3 separate regions of the Homo sapiens genome follow, and all the other regions are linked to region 3. Evidence: promoter capture Hi-C in 16 types of primary human blood cells and fetal thymus (Javierre and others, 2016). All regions are on one chromosome and are shown on one strand. Each heading gives the region's core, a stretch centred on a gene start or on the middle of the fragment in contact. The rest is flanking DNA. Distances are from core to core; before and after follow the strand shown.

Region 1 (3,346 bases), core at 460-2,959, 610 kb after region 3:
AATAGGCAGGGCAATAAATATTTTGTGTTTGGCTACCAGGGTGGGTAGGGAAATACCATCAGGTTGGGGCAGGGTTAGGTGGTTCTGGGCTCAGACTCTTCTTGGGCAGGGCTTGCTGCAGACACTGTGGGAAATTGGGGGATGGGGGTGGTTTGTCAGGCCACTGGGTTTATGTTCCAGAGGAGATCTTGACTGCCTCTGCTGTATCATAAACTTTACCAGGGTAGTGGGGGAGAGCCAGCAGCAAGAGGCCTCATCCAGCTACTATGCAGTTGGTGAGGCTAGTCTCACTCCTGCAGTGCCCTGCTCAGACCTTGCCCCAGGCTGTGAGCTACCCCACTGGGAAAGCAAGCATGGCCTTTGGACCTCACCCCTTCCCACCTGCCCACTCCATCAGCAGCAGCTCCTGTACTCACTTGTATCTGCTGCGGCTCCCATTAGTCCCTTGGACTCTGCCTGAGAAAATTTGTGACCAGCTGAAACCACTACTGATTTCATTTGGGAGCTTCCTTCGCCCTGCCATCACTCTCCAATTCCACTGGCTGCCTTACCTGAGGGCCACTGTGAGATATAGTCAGGGCTGGCTTCCCTGGACTCAAGCTGGAGACTGGGAGTACATCCAAAGCACTTCCTGTTGCTACTTCTACTTTCATATTTCACATAACCCCCTAAATCCGTTTCACCTCTAGGTAAGGTTAAATTCTTCCTCCATGATCTGGATTTTTAGATTTCCCCAGTGGGGATGTGTATTCAGAGGTAGGTTCTCCCCGACTCACACTTTGGGAACTCAGTTTCTTGCCTGTTTTGCAGAATTTGCAGTGGTGTGCCACTTCTTTCAAAGGATCTTTGAATTCTTTTGGTTTTCCCGGTAAGTTCCTACAGTGGTTCTTGGAACAAAAGATCATAGTGTCTCCATATGCTATTCTGTCCGTCCTTGTGGAAGCTGCACGTTAGCCCTGTCTTTTCTTTACTTTTTTTTTTTTTTGACATGGAGTCTCTGTCACCCAGGCTGGAGTGCAGTGGCACAATCTTGGCTCACTGCAAGCTCTGCCTCCCAGGTTCAAGCGATTCTCCTGCCTCAGCCTCCCAAGTAGCTGGGACTATAGGTGCCTGCCACCATGCCTGGCTAACTTTTCGTATTTTTAGTAGAGACAGGGTTTCACCATGTTAGCCAGAATGTTCTTGATCTCCTGACCTCATGATCCGCCTGCCTTGGCCTTCCAAAGTGCTGGGATTACAGGCGTGAGCCACCGTGGTGGCCAGCCCTGTCTCTTATCTGCCATCTTCCCTGTTTCCTGTTACCAGCTTTTTTTGTTAACTTTCCAAAAATATTTTATTTGTATATAAATATTTACATACTTACTTCTTTGTATATATACATACTTTAACATAAATGGTAGAATATGGTACAACCACTGAGTATCTTGCTTGCCACTTGACAATTCATCATGACAGTCCTATTCCATCAGTACATGAAAGATCATGTGGATGTTAAAAGTGAAAATTACCAAGTGGCAGCACTATTTACTCTTCATGTTTTTGGATAATATTTAAAAATTTCTTTCTGAATGCTTATTTTGCCATTTTCTTAAATTGCCTTTCCCAGTATTCTCTCAGTCTTTATGAAGCTGAATTAATTTGGCTTCAAGGGAGGCTAACTTGGATTACTGGAAATTATCACCACAGACCCACATTTACATGTGCTCTATACAGCTCCATTGTGCTTTCCCCATCTACCTCTACTCCTAGTTCCCCAAGTCACTGTATTTTGCCTGAGAACTGACCTCAGATTCATACGAGCATGCATATTCTCTCCTTAGACTATTTCTTCCCAAGCTGCCCCCATTTTGAAGTGGACAAGAATTTTATCCATACTTCATTTCCCCCAGGATAGCAAATCTATTATGTGGACAGATCTGTGCTTCAGAGGAAGACTAGCAGCATTCTGATACATTCTGTGGATAACTATCCAGAAACATGCTATACATACATATACAAACTTCGCCTGCCACTTTTTTAAAAAAAAAAAAAAACCAAGTAAAAGACGTACTTTCCTAGAAGTCAGAGAAAATCAATGCGCAGTGGTATCTCCGAAATGGCTTCCCTCAGTACTCGGTTTTAGATTCCAAATTCTTGTTTGAGACTAGAAATATTTCTCCCAACCCTGTGTCCTCAGTTTAGGTGCCCTTGCTGTTAACTATAAGGAAATGGGTTTTCTGTGATTATGTAGGATAAAACATAAATGCTAAAAGAAATCATCTACTCTCTATATGCAGGTGTTAACATTATCTGAATAACTAACGTGTTTAGGTATTTATATTCTCTAAGTTAACTCATAAGGGAGATTTTATGAAGCAGTTAATCTCTAACGATACTTCTGATCTTTTGAGTTGCACCTGACTTTCAAACCTGGGATTATAAGAGAAGTAGCACATGTGGACCAAGCCATAGGCTTCTTAGTCATGGTAGCCATTTTTGTTGCTTGGGAACTAAAACTGTGATTCCACCCCTTATACCACCACTGGCCCTTGTGGGGCTGTCCCCATAGTTCTGTGATTTGGCTATAATGGTAGACAGAAGGCTGGGCAGTAATGGCCAAACTCAGGTCAAAGGCAACAGCTGCCAATCTGACCATTTTTAGAAGATCAATAATAGTAATTTAATTCACAAAAGCAGTTACCAGCCATTGGATGTTCCATAACTGACAGGCATGGTTCAGAGACTTCATTAAGTATTAACTCTCTCATCCCTCACACAGTCTTATAAGGTACATGCTATAATTATCTTCATTTTAGAAGTAAGATAACTGAAACCCACATATGTCAAATAATTTGTCCTCTTGGACACAGCTACTTTGTTGAAGAGCAGAGATTTGATCCTAAGTAATCTGGCTCCAGACTGCATACTCTTGAGTAATGTGATATTCTATGTTAAATCATTTTATCTAGATAGCAAAATCAAAACTTATTAAAAAGGTAGGTTGCAACTTTGAGTGGTTCAGCTTAAAATGACTGAGAGTAACAGAGGAACAGGAAATTATTAGCAACAGGAAATAACTCTTCATAAAACTTTGCATAATACAAAGCAAACTTGAGTGAGGGTATGGGGCCACTCGCTCTGCCAATTAACCAAATGCCAGATGCCACCCCAAGCCCACATGATTTATTCTGGTACACCTTCCAGAAAGACTACACACCTCTCTCGTTTTGGGGCAAAACGGCTCAGCCATTGGAATATGGCACACTCCTCTGGCACAAGAATGACTTCCATCATAGAAGGACTGAGGTCTCATAGTGGTCCTACAAAATAAAGCAAAAAAGGTTTTTGTTTGTTTTATTTTAAGGCC
Region 2 (3,579 bases), core at 403-2,902, 650 kb after region 3:
GGTCACCTTACAACAATTCTGATTATGAAACAGTATAAGGATTCCAACAGCTTCTCCCTTTTTGATAATCTCTCATAAATGTCTTCCCAACTTCTAGGTCCTAGCCAACAAAGTACTGAAATGGTTATCACCAGTAGCTGACTATGTTGGGTCTTGAGCAGTGGTTCTTCAGTGTCCTACAGTTCCCTTTTACTAAACATGTTATTTTTGAAGTCGTCTCCAAACCATTCCAGAATCATCAAATCTTCAGGAGGAAGTATTCACACAAATGCATGAAATGTATCACCTCAGCCAACCATATCAGCTTTCCCACTGAATTGTTATATTTCTGCCCCTGACCAGTATGTCTGTCCTGGATGGGTACTACAAAATGGGCCCAAGCTGGCTGGTAACCCATCCTCATCTGAAGGTATTAAAGCTGGCAAGTTGTCATGGCCTAAGAAACTCACATAACTCCCCACTACCTTGTAGATATTTGGGCCAAAATAAAAATTCTAAATAACATGGAGGTGTGCTTAGAGATCCCCAATGGTGTGTGAATCACATCTTTTTACAATACACCTGTATCACAGCCACAATGAGTAGGGACATTTTGGCCACTACTTTTGACAATGGATTAGATTCCCACATTGGAAGCTTTGTGAAAAAGCTAAAGTTCTATTAGCAAGCAGCCACTCTAGATTTAGCAGAACATTGTTGAAAAAATATCTGGGGGAACAATAAGTAAACTAATTATAATAATGACAGTAATACATTTTAAAAATTATTGCATCTTCAGATTCTCAGCCAGGCAAGCCTATGCCAGCATGAAGAAGCCAAAGATGTCTGAACTGGTATAAATTCAGGTTCAAAATCCACAACATCATCGTTGTGCACAGTGTGGTCATTGGGAAGAAAAAAGTTAAACTCAGAGACTCAATGCCCTTAATAAAATTGTATCCAAAGAAACTTCTCCACAGGCAATTATCAGAATAATCAACTTCTCTTTATCCTGCCCAAGAAGGAAAAAAAATGTACTGAAAAGAAAATAGTGGCTAGTGTTTATTAAGAAGCAAAAGATATGCAAGTATGTACCAGGCCAGTCCTAAGGTACCCTTCTGAAAAAACATTGAATATAATTGGATAAATGTATAAGAGATTTGTCTGCAATCCAAGTTCTCTTAACACTCTTGATTGTAAATAACTGAACAAATTATTGATCTAAAAAATACAGCTATGTGTCTTTACCCTGACTCTGCAGTATAGACCATGATACAACATAAACATTAACATTTTAGTAACTAGAGACTTAGATATTTTTGTCATAGAAGGCCTAATTGAACCTTTCTAAATTTCTTATAGGTTAGTATGTGACTATTACTCTAAAACTTTAAGGAAATAAGAACAAAAAACAAAGAGAAGTGTTCCATTCTCCCATTATCATAGTGATAAAACAAAATAAGTAGTATGTCACAAGTGAAGAAAATATTACTGAAATCTAATATTAAAAATGCATTTATTGCAGGTACTTTATAGAGGGAATTGCAAGTGATATACTAGGTTTCTCAAAAAATATTTACATCACATTTTAGGTGGCAATTCCTTATAATGACCTTTAATGAAAGTGGAGAGTCCAGTTATAAAGTGTAACCTGGCATCTGTGTTTTTGGTTGAGGGAAGAACCCCATGCTTTAAAATGAGTTAAGTAGGGTCAGTTTTGACAGTCTGCTTTAAAGTTGGTATGCTCCAGATAGTTGGAATTAGCCATATGTTTCTTGTTGCAATAGAATCAAGTTCTCCTTCAGTTTTCTTTATTCGTTCCTTCTATTCAAAGTCCCTTTTACCCTAGAAATATCCTTCATTGCAAATCACCTTGTCTTGTCTTCAAAGTTCACTTCAAATTGTATCTCCCCTATCATTTCTGAAACTCTACTGAAGATGACTTAAGTTGCATATAATTTGGATTTTTTGAAGTAAAATCTCACCATTTTTTCACTTTTCTTAGATTAATGCTGCACATTAAAAGCATATTCAGGTTAACAGAATGGCCATCTACCCTGGACTCCCAGGATCTTCACATACCTATTATAAATAATAATAGGTATTATTATTTCTGTTATAGGATAAGCAAAGTGTAAGATTAAGCCCTGAACCCTATACCTCCCTCAGTGAAAGAGAGAGTATGTTCAATCTTGATCTGAAGAGACATGATTCTCAGCTTCTGTGCTTTGTATAGAAAAGGGCCAAAAAGTAATAGATACCCAGATGTATTTTAATATCACAGATGCAACATAATCTCTGCTTAGCGTGTCAGGATCTAAAGCTATGATGAAAGACCCATATAATGAGCTCTTATGTGACCCACTGCTCTTTATTCCACTTTAAAAACTTAAGGCAGGAAATAAGTCTAAAAGCATTGCTTTTCTTCTCTGGCAAATCCATATGTTGTCTGTACATACAATCCTAAAAACAAATTGGGAACAAAGTCATATTTGTCTTCTGAGCATCTTCAAGAGCAACAACAAAACAGCTAATATTTATTAAGAGCCACATATTCTTCATTTAATCCTCACAGATATTAATGTCATTGCTATTAATGTAATTTCCATTTTACAGAGGAGGAGAGAGAGAGAAGTTGAATTGCTGTAACTTCATCTTTTCTGCTTATTTGCCTCTCCCCAAAGCTTCCTTGTCCGTTTGGAATCTTCAGGACTTCCCTCTCTCTAGCCCATCAAAATGTCAATCAAACCTATCAAACCTGTTAAGTTGCCAAAATCACCTTAAAATGTTACCTCACCCAGGGGTTTATGAATTTTACAGGTATTAAGCCTTAAATTGAGATAATTAAATTCTAGGTAGGATGTGATGTTTGAGAAAGGACAAGTGTTGGTGTTATTATCACTATCATTGCATGAGGAACATGAGGCTCAGAGCATTTAAGAAGTCTTCTCAAATTTATATAACTAAAGTAATTGAGATTCAGTCCTGAATCTGTCCTAATTGCAAAGTCTAAACTCTTGATTAATTATTATTTTTTCCACTGTTGAGATTCAGATAACAACACCCCAAAAAGGAAGTCCTCAGAAGCAGCCTCAAAAGCGAAAGTTTTTCTCTGACCTTCTCCTGCCTGTCTTTCACGCCCATTATCCCCCTGATGCTACCATAGAAACTAGAATCCTTCTTCCCCAAGGTGGATAATAGAAACCAGAAGATCTTTTCCCTAAAGCCAGCCGTAAAACCTAAACATATTTCTCTAACCTTCCCTCTGCCTTTCTGTGTGAAGGGTAAGAACCAAAAGATATGCGAATATGGCCATGAAGAAATTGTCTGACCTATCTTGTTTGACTGTGGGTTATAATACCCCCATTCCAGAGAGAGACCTGACTCATACCCATAAGGAAGGAATCCTACACAGAGAGGCCAAGAAGAATCTAGACAGACAGCTTTGCTGGGTTTCCCCACTCAGTCTGTTAGCAGTATGTCATGCCCTTTTTGTCCAATCATATTTCTACATGGCTGTCCATACTTTGTTGAACCTGTGGAATATAAATCATTAAGCCAAGGGAAAAAATGACTAAGCCAAGGGAAAAGTCAAGCCGG
Region 3 (3,317 bases), core at 411-2,910:
ATAATGAAAACTCCTTGGATAAAAAACCTCTAATATTGAACTTTGAAATTCTTACCTATGGTTTTACAAATTACATTTTGCGAAAACAATTTAGAGTGAAGAAACAAAGAAAGACGATGGTTTGGTAGATTTCAGTCTCTTCCCCACATCAAGCTTGCAACAAATGTTTGCCCCAACATGTAGTAAAGAACTGCATCCCCAACTATCAGAGTTTCCCACGCAAAATCAGCTCTGGTTTTACAGCTGAAAACAGTCCAGAGCAGGGAGGATCACCTGAGCCTGGGGAGGTTGAGGCTGCAGTGAGCTGTAATGGCGCCACTGCACTCCAGCCTGGGCAACAGAGTGAGATCCTGTCTGGAAAGAGTACAGAGCAGACTCAAACACAGCACCTCTTACGAAGCTTTTCGCTCAATGCCTGCTTGAAGTTCTACTCACACAGTGAAAGTCAAATCAACTTCCGAGTAAATAACTCTACTCCTAGGGTGAATTGCTCATTTGTTACCACCCATGCTTCATTTTTTCATTATCTCATCCTATCACCTGAGGGAACAACAGTAAATTCCTCCAAAGTGAAGGCGATGGGGTCTCTCACACTCTCATTAATGTCCATATTGCTGAGCAGTTCCCCAAAACTTAAAGTGTTTCTTTTAAACAACTATTCCTGCCCGCCTATGGACACGGTGGCTTGTTTCAGAGTTTCTTTCCAGAACAACCATTCCTTGAGCAAAGAGTAAATCAAAGACCAACTCACCTTGTTTTTCCTCAGGATAATCTTGCTGGAAAACTTCGAAAGCGGGGGTCGCGGAACCACTGGCCTGTCTCAAGGCACCCAGTCCCAGCGCAGCCCCCGCCGCAGGGCCGCCCGTGGACTGTGGATTCTCGGCTCTGCCGCCGCCCCCGGATGCCCGACCACCGGGGGGCCAGGAGAGCCCCGAGCACAGGAGCCTCTGTAGCCCCCGGGCTTCGCTCTCCTCCTGCGCCTGCTGCCTGCGCAGCGCCACCTGGGCGGCCATGACGCGCTGGCGCTCGGCGATCAGGGTGCACTTGGCACACGCGCAGTCCCGCCAGCGGCAGAAGCGCTTGTGGCCCTTGAGCGCTGACACCACACCATGGTTACGACAGCGGGCGCACTTGGGCGTCCGCGGGTAGCCGCAGCCCACCGCGCCTACCCCGCTCTCCAGCCCGGGAGCCGGCGGGCAGCCTCCGCTTCCCGAGGTGGCGGCAGCGGCGGCGGCGGCCGCGGCCGCTGCTCGCAGAAAGAGGCTGGGCGGCCGCAGGAACGCTGGGGGAACCTGCATCCCCGATGGTACCGGCAACGCCGGGGACGGGGGCGGAGGGGCAGCCACCACTAGCCCAGGGGCCAAGTGAGGTCGGCCGCTAACGCCTCGGTCTCTGCTGCCACACTGTGACCGCTCCATTCCCGAGAAATTTCTGGCCGGGAGTCCCAAGTGGAAAGTGCGCTGACCGCAGCTAACCCTGCTGGGAGGCTGGGGAAGCCGGGGCAGGACGCGCCGTGGTCCTACTGAGCTCCACCCGCGCACGGACAAAAGTTTTACACTCTTTCCACTCGGAAGGAGTTGGGACGACCGCGTCCTGGAGCTGGAGACGCTGAGAGGTGCAGCTGTCCCGTGAGCCTGGCAGAGACCCCGGGCGCTAAGTTAATGCCTTTGTGCCTCCAGCCAAGAAGGCAAGGCTAGAGAGGCTACCCCGCCCACCCAGGCTCCCGGCCCAGCGCGGAAGCCGGGGGAGGGCCCGGGGCGGGGAGTGGGGACCTTCTGGGAGGAGGGCGGCGGGGAATCCGTCCAATGGGCTGCAAATGTCTCCTCCCCCAAAAAAAGCCCGTTTCTACTTGCTTCCCTAGGAGTTCTCGACGTCTATTTTTGTAAACTAGCCTTTGCAGCCTCCCCTTTTACTGCCCTTTTGAAATTAAGCAGAGTTTGAATTTCTCCTTTTCCCACTTCCACGCTTCTCCTAAGAAAGTCTGAAGATTTGGATTTTGAGTTCTCCTTTCGGGTTCCCAGATGAAGTCTTCATGTCTGCAGCAGTTTGGCCAATGTTAGTGGGATCCCAGCTTGATAGACTACGAATTTGTTACCCACCAGAAAGATGCCTTATTTTAAATGGGTCTTAGGACAGCATCAAAACAATGGATAAATAACTAAGGGAAGTGATTCACATTCAGATTCTTTTCATGCATTCTATTTATTTACACATGCGAATTTGGGTTGTGTGTACTCTATTTTAAAATACTGCTACTTTAAAAAAGTTATCAAACTCTTCTCTGCGCCTATTTATAGGCAGCGATTGTGTTAAAGCTGTTTCAAAAATACTTATGTCTATTGTAAAGTATTGGGGAAAGTCGTTTAGATCATTATTTAAATATGCTGTCATGAATGCATTCTTCACATATGAATTTAATGCCTTTAATTATAAGAAAAGACCATAAGGCGTTTAAGTCAAAAGAGCATCTGAGATAGAAAATTCATGAATGTTTATTCTTAATGGAAGGTAGCGTCAGCACTCTGCCAGCTCTTCAAGATGGTATCCAACTACCTTGGACAAGTTATTCATTTTCCATCCCTAAGATAGCAATTAATAATGATATTTTTACCATTCCACCTGTTCACATTCAGAGCAGATATTGCTGATCTATCTGGCCTTTCTCCTACCAACCTACTCAACACCATCACCACCACTACCATCCTCTCATACAAACATCCTATCGTAGAAGTTTTCCACCCTTCCTAAGAACTGGAACTACCTAGGGAACTTTTAAAAGAGATGGACACTCCAATCTACGTAATGTATTCTGATTCTTTTTGTCTGTGTCTTAAACTCTGAAGGTGAAAATTACATACAATGTTTAGAACTACCACTCAAGGAATTCCTAACCTCTGGGGGTTCTATGATATCCAACCTTTCTCACAACTCTTTATCTTTGTTCAAGCTACTCCTGCCTAAAATGTACTGATGCCCTAACTGTGGACTCACATCCGTCCTTTGAGAGATGAGTTTTTAGTTCTAAATGGATCATTAAAATACAATGAATTACCTAACGAGAAAGCAATTTTCTTTTCTATTCTTTTTAGGAGCTTCAGGTTACATAATGGGAATGTTCAGCTTAATGCAAATATGTCTTTTAAATTTTTAAAATACCTTTTAATTGTGTTTTTCAATAACAACAACAAAGAGCAGCAAGTAAAATGTTTACCTAGAGTTTAGCGATATTTTTCTGTTTTTATTTGATTTTTAAAGTTATCTTATAATTATGGAAAGTGATATTGGTTTTCCTCCAAGGAAGTAAAAATAGTTTTTAA

The links. Contacts are between HindIII fragments. The CHiCAGO score rates a contact against its expected background, and 5 or more counts as called.
Region 1: a fragment that was not itself captured here is called in contact with the fragment with the promoter of DMRTA1 in region 3 in 1 of 17 cell types (total B cells); the score reaches 6.2 in total B cells.
Region 2: a fragment that was not itself captured here is called in contact with the fragment with the promoter of DMRTA1 in region 3 in 2 of 17 cell types (total B cells and M0 macrophages); the score reaches 6.2 in total B cells.

Annotation. Positions count from the first base shown.
Region 1 is chr9:21,837,861-21,841,206 of GRCh38, reverse strand. MTAP (methylthioadenosine phosphorylase) reads right to left here. Exons shown (of 8, transcript NM_002451.4): 5 at 3,197-3,299. Among named protein-coding and RNA genes, the nearest start is that of MTAP, 37 kb to the right of the region's middle. The HindIII fragment of the contact is 3,499 bases long and covers 1-3,346 here.
Region 2 is chr9:21,796,819-21,800,397 of GRCh38, reverse strand. No RefSeq gene overlaps it. Among named protein-coding and RNA genes, the nearest start is that of MTAP, 4.0 kb to the left of the region's middle. The HindIII fragment of the contact is 2,027 bases long and covers 639-2,665 here.
Region 3 is chr9:22,445,167-22,448,483 of GRCh38, reverse strand. It overlaps DMRTA1 (DMRT like family A1), which reads right to left and starts at 1,660. Exons shown (of 2, transcript NM_022160.3): 1 at 752-1,660. The coding sequence starts at 1,418. RefSeq lists an enhancer at 985-1,484. The HindIII fragment of the contact is 6,499 bases long and covers 403-3,317 here.